2 separate regions of the Homo sapiens genome follow, and region 1 is linked to region 2. Evidence: promoter capture Hi-C in 16 types of primary human blood cells and fetal thymus (Javierre and others, 2016). All regions are on one chromosome and are shown on one strand. Each heading gives the region's core, a stretch centred on a gene start or on the middle of the fragment in contact. The rest is flanking DNA. Distances are from core to core; before and after follow the strand shown. Region 1 overlaps MAP7D1 (MAP7 domain containing 1). Region 2 holds the start of MRPS15 (mitochondrial ribosomal protein S15).

The links. Contacts are between HindIII fragments. The CHiCAGO score rates a contact against its expected background, and 5 or more counts as called.
Region 1: a contact is called between a fragment that was not itself captured here and the fragment with the promoter of MRPS15 in region 2, in 1 of 17 cell types (neutrophils). The highest score is 5.6, in neutrophils.

What each region holds. Positions count from the first base shown.
Region 1 is chr1:36,172,713-36,175,858 of GRCh38, forward strand. It overlaps MAP7D1 (MAP7 domain containing 1), which reads left to right. Exons shown (of 17, transcript NM_001388490.1): 5 at 652-766; 6 at 2,186-2,296. Among named protein-coding and RNA genes, the nearest start is that of MAP7D1, 18 kb to the left of the region's middle. RefSeq lists an enhancer at 1-1,035 and a silencer at 2,638-2,727. The HindIII fragment of the contact is 7,110 bases long and covers 1-3,146 here.
Region 2 is chr1:36,462,953-36,465,873 of GRCh38, forward strand. It overlaps MRPS15 (mitochondrial ribosomal protein S15), which reads right to left and starts at 1,432. Exons shown (of 8, transcript NM_031280.4): 1 at 1,194-1,432; 2 at 854-898. The coding sequence starts at 1,323. RefSeq lists enhancers at 440-1,343, 739-1,938, 1,338-1,587, 1,344-2,245. The HindIII fragment of the contact is 11,955 bases long and covers 1-2,921 here.

The sequences.
Region 1 (3,146 bases), core at 122-2,621, 290 kb before region 2:
GGCTCTGCCTTATCTGTGTCTATGTGGTCCTATTTGTGTTCACATCTACAGTTGTGTCCCTGTGTTAGAATATCTGGGCACCTGTACAACTGCAGGCACATTTGCTTCTGAATGTGCCACTGTAGGCCCCTGTAACTGTTTACTGTCAGTACCTGTGTTCGTACATGTACCCCATGTGTCTGTATGTATGCAGGTATGCATCTGTGTGAGCGTGCCTAGCTCTGTGACATGGGTAAAGCCCTAGCTTGAGTGCTGGTGAGGAAATGAAGGAAATGGCCACCTGGCCCTACCTGGGAGGGCCTCAGGCTAGAGGGAACACATAGCCCCAAGGTCAGGACCCTCAGTGCCTGAGATGTGGCCTTGCCTGGGAGCCCCAGGTAGGGGGAGTCCACCCAATCCTCAGAGAATCAACTCATGCACTCAGGAAATGACTCAGGAACAGTGAAAAGCTCCCCAAGAACAAGTTGAAAGGGATCTTGGTCCTTAATCATAGCAAGGATTTGGTAACCTTGGTTACCTGCAATGAGTCAGGAAAAGACTCCAAGGGAAGGGAGTGGGGGAGGCATTGTCACAGGAGGAAGAAGGGCCTCTATCCCAAATTCGATGAATGTTCTGAGTCCACATCTCTCTCTTCTCCCCACCTTCCCCCAGGAGCGCTATGAAGCAGCCATCCAACGGTCAGTGAAGAAGACGTGGGCCGAAATCCGGCAGCAGCGCTGGTCCTGGGCAGGGGCCCTGCACCACAGCTCTCCAGGACATAAGACCAGTGAGTAGGCTGGAGGGGCTGGGGAGTGGGTGGGCAAGGCTGGGATGGCAAGTAAGGGAAGGGAACAACTTCCCTACAAAAAGCTGGTGGCTCCCTGCAGCAGGTGTGCCTTGCTTTATGTGACTTGTGTCTTCTAGAATGGTCTGTAAGCCAAACTGTCCCTTCCCAAGGACTTCCACTATCAAATCAGAGATGGATTCTCTCCATTTGGTTTGCTCTTCAAACCTCTGTCATTTTAGGATTAGCCTTCTTTGCGCCTGTCAATTATTATTAGTTGTTGATACATAAAAGACTTTAATGACCTACAGACACTGGATCTTAAAGAAACTGTCACTCCTTGTCTCGGAAGGTAGATTTTTGTCTCTGAGTTTTCTCCGCGTAGGGCCACCATGGATTTTGGTCTGATTCTTTGCTGGCATGTATGTACCACTGTGCTTGGATGTCTTTATGCAATGGCAAGTTTCAGTATTTCTAGCTGTGTATCTTCTGTTTATGTGCTCCTGGACCCGTGCATTGTGTGTCTTAATATGTGTTTGCCTTGGCGTGTTTGTGACCTTGTGTACCTCAGTGAGGGCTCCTAAGTCAGACAGACTTGGGTTCCAGCTCTGGCACTTGCAGCGTAACCTTTAACTTCTCGAAGTCTCACTTTCTTCATCTATAAACTGGGGATAGTGATACTACTTGCCCCTGAGGTGGTAGATAGATGTTTGAAGGATCAAATGAGGTCACATGTGTGTGGTGCCCCACACAGTACCTGGCACATGGTAAGCATCAACAAATGTGAGCTGCTACAAATGTCATGATGAGGTTGCTTCGATCTGTTTGTGGCTTGTGTGCATCTGGGTCTGACACACTATCTGTTAGTGTTTGTGTCTCTGTCCCTGTGCATGTCTGCACACATGTGTGCATGCCGAAGTATCTGCCACTCTATATGCCTGTGTCTGCATGTCTTTTTGTGATTCTGGATGAACACGTGGATTTGTGCAAGTGACTGTGACTGTGTAGGTCCTGTTTAGGAGGGTTTTTGCATTTATCCCAGTACGGGGGTGTTGTATCCAAACGTCTTGGCTGGGCAGTGTCAGCAAGTGCTAATGCTGGGTGGTTATGGGGAGGGGTTGCAGTACTCAGCCGTAAGGAATGGCTTCCTTGGTCTGGCCAGGAAAGCTGTAGTTTCTCTAGTTTTACTCATCTCCTCCCTTTGTTCCTTCTCCGTCGGCTCCCCCAACCCAGGTTGTCTCTGGTCACCTACCCCCCCACCCTCCCTCTCCCAGGGCCAAGGCTGCCTCCTGCTCCTCATCCTAGCCTGCCCACTCCTCCCTCTCCCACCCCGCCCTCGGAGCATCCTGCATGGAAGGCCTCGGTGCCCCCCACTGGCTCCTGCCGGGCCCGGCCCTAATGCCGTGTCTTTTCCCCCTCCAGGTGGGAGCAGGTGCTCCGTGTCGGCAGTTAACCTGCCCAAACACGTGGACTCTATAATCAACAAGCGGCTCTCAAAGTCCTCTGCCACGCTCTGGAACTCCCCCAGTAGAAGTAAGAGAAGGCCCAGCCCTTCCCCCTCCAGAGCCCCTTGTAGCTCCCACCAAGCCTCCTCCAGAGCTCAGCAAGAACACCAGGTCCCTGGAGCCCTCACATACTCCAGGTCCCCATCCCCACTCTACCTTACCCAGGGCTCTGTGCCCCTCGGGGGAGCCGGCATATGGGTCTGGACCCTGAGGACAGAGGTTGCCCTGTAGGAGAGGAGAACAGAGACAAAGCACAATGCCGCAGAGGGCAGGAAGCCTGGCAGGAGCCTCAAGAGCAAGTTGGAGGTGGTGGCTGGGGGTGGGGACAGGCAGGCAGCCTTTTCTGCAACCACAGCCAGCTGGTCTGGGCCAACCTTAGCCAGGTGGCATTGTCCCCATGTGTCAGACTGGCCTGGGTGCTGTGGGGTGGAGGGGTCCCTCATTCTGGCTCCACCCTAGAGGGCCCATGCAATCCTGCCCTCTCTGTCTTCAGAGCCCCAGTCATGGCCTTGGCTGGTCCCAGAGTTGAGCCAACCAAGGTGGCATAGCCCCTGCATTCCCACCATGCCCTGGTGCTCATATGTGAAGGAGCCATGGTGGGAGTTATTTATAAGTTTCTCTTGCATTTGTTTGGCTGCTTTGTTGCCTAGCAACCAAATCAGCTGCTGTACCAACCCCACCTGACTGAGGCTTAAAAATAGCCCAGCAGCTGAGGGGACAGAGCAGGGTGGCCTAGGGCAGGCAGGCACCCTAGCAGCCTCTCCCTGGCACAGGACTGCTAAAAGCTGGGTCAGAGGAGCACAAGGACCCTCACTGTCCTGAATCCATGGGACAGCCTCGGCTGGGTCAGCCCTCTGACAGCAGGAGGGGCAAGACCT
Region 2 (2,921 bases), core at 182-2,681:
GCCAATAATTTCTTTCTTTTTTGTTTTTTTGAGATGGAGTCTCGCTCTGTCACCCAGGCTGGAGTGCAGTGGCACGATCGGCTCACTGCAACCTCCACCTCCCAGGTTCAAGCGATTCTCCTGCCTCAGCCTCCTGAGTAGCTGGGATTACAGGCGCGCGCTACCACACCTGGCTAATTTTTTTCTGTATTTTTAGTAGAGACGAGGTTTCACCATGTTGGCCAGGCTGGTCTCGAACTCCTGAACTCAAGTGATCTGCCCACCTTGGCCTCCCAAAGTGTTGGGATTACAGGCGTAAGCCACCGCGTCCGGCCCCAGATAATAAATTCTAATATATACTATCAATATATTTAATTGAGCACAGCGTTAAGGGTGCTTTTCGTGTATTATCGCTGAATCCTAACAATCCTTGCAAATGGATACTTTCACACTCATTTTAGAAATAAGAATCAGAGAGAGGAAGTACCTTGCCCCATATCATTTACCTAATAAGAAGGATCTTAACTACTATGCATACTGAGTTGCAATGGGAAATTACATCCTGCATCTCAGAAGCGCAGACACAAAGTGCCATACTCTAGGTAGGCCTGGGTGGTGCCAGCCATGCACTCCCTCTGGGAAGCTCATTTTCACTCATTCACCTGGAAAGCTCCTGCTCCCGCCCTTCACACCCCTCTGTCCCCATACAGGCTGCAGGCCTAGGGCTTTGTGTAAGGTGGACGTGGGGTCTTTTGCTCAGGACCTCTGGCTCACCTCATCTAGTGGCTCTAATTCGCCACATCGGTCCCCTTACCCACCCCAGCCTTCCAGGAGGTCTCTCTTCCGCCCCAAGTCCCACCTTAGGAACTCCTACCTGGTTTCCGGACGACATATCCGCGCGCGGCCTGGAGGAGGAGACCTACGCAGAAAAGAGAGGGCTGAGGACCATCTCCTTAAATAGCCCACCCCTCAGTTCCTTTCTGTGCCCCTCGCATTGCCCGTCCGCCACGGTCTATGCGCTTCTGAACCTAACCGCTGCCCCATTTCTTCCCTACCCCTTGTCTCTCACATCTTGTTTCACCTCTTGCGCAACCACCGCCCTTTCCCCCTTATCCTGACCGCTGTATATCTCCCCTACTCCTGTGCTTCCTTATTCCCTATCTTCGCCGAACCCTGTTTCCCTACGCCCGCCGTCCCATTTCTCAGCTCCTCACTTCGAGGCTGCAGGCCCCACTGGTTGAAAGGAAACTTGGCGCTCCCACCGCCCGGCAGCCCGGGTACTAGGACCTGGGTAACTGCCCGGGTCCGAATCAAACTCAGCGTCCTCCACGCGACCCTCAGCATGGTGACCTCTAACCCCCGCGGGGCCCGCGCCGCGGCCGCCGTTCGCTTTGCGGCACGGACCGGGTTACATGGGCGCCGCCATGCTGGCCCAGGATCGACCAATCGAGGCAGTTGCAATACCGGAGCAGACGAAGACCGAGAGAATGGATTAGGTGGCGTGACTCTGATGACGCAACGCACGGGGCGGAGCTCAGAGACCGGGTTCCCGCTGCGCGTGATCGGGCCGTGGTGGTTGTGTGCCCACGTTTAGCAGCGTGCTGGGGTGCTGTATAAATTCTAAAATGCCACTTTTTGGAGGGCATGCGTTCCGTCCTTAATCTCATTCCTGGCCCTCGGGCCAGGGTTATTTTGGGAGGTCCATGGCGCCTGCGGTAGCCTTCTACCCCCAACCCAATCCCCTCTCCACCCCACCTCACCCCTCCCTTAGACAAGGATGGGACCGTGTAAGAACTACTACTGGGTTTCAGCCATGTCTCTGGCAGCCTCGTAGCCTGGAGACTAAAGTCGCTGAGTTTGGAATCGCACAGTCCTGGTCTGGAATCCTAACTCAGCCATTTACTCAACATGTGATCTTGTGGGCAAGTCACTTAACCTATGTGGGCCCTGTAGGGATAGTAATAACAATATCTCTCTTTTAGGTTGTTGAGAGGATTAACTGAGTTGTATGCAGACCACCTGGTATATAGTGAGCATTTAGTAAATCTTTACGGTGACGTTATTTGTGAAATGAGTGGTGTAAGGGTGGATACAAATTAGAAGAAAAAGAAAATTTAATTTTCCCTGGCGCAAAAAGGGAAAAGACTCCTTCCCCTCACTTTTCTGAGAGCATTTACTTTAGAAAACTTGTAATTGTGAATACTTTCTCTACTGCTTTGCGATGAATGTAAATCTTCTTAAAAGGTAAATAAACCTCTTGCCAGTTTTACAACCCCGGAATGTTTTTCTCAAGGACCTGGGGGCCAACCCTTTGAAATGTAATAATTAAGGAAGATAGTGCTCTCTCTCAGTTCCTGTGGGAGGGTAGGAGCCTAACTTCAGTTGGTGCCTAGCTCTTAGTTGCAACCTACCCTTTGTTATAAAGATAGGGGAAATCGATTTTTCCTTTGGATAAAGGCAATTAGCAGACACAGGTGGCTTCCCACTTACCAGGTAAATTTAGAGTGAGGTGCAGCCAAGTCCTCTTGCTTGAGGACCAGTTATTGTTTATCTTGAGAAAATGGATACAGTAAGTTGTATTCACTTTGCTACATAAAAGAGTAAGATTTTTGTCTCTTTGCAGTCTCTTTAGTGGATCACCAGTGTATCACATTCCGGTTTAATGCTTATTCAATAATAACACTGTTTTCTTTCTTTTCTACCCTTGTGAAGAGGTTTTCTGCGTTGGCAGGGGATTTTGTCTTTAATTTTATTTCCCCAACAGGGGTTAGTTTTTCCAAAGTCTCTTCACCGTGTCCCACCGCACTGTCACTCCCCCCGTGTAACCCATGCCACTGTGCCCTAAGGATCAGTTTTCAAGTCTCCACCACTAGAATGCAGCTCTCTGAGGGTGAACTGAGCTGAGTCGTTTGCATAGGGCCTAGATACTGAGAGCTAGCAGA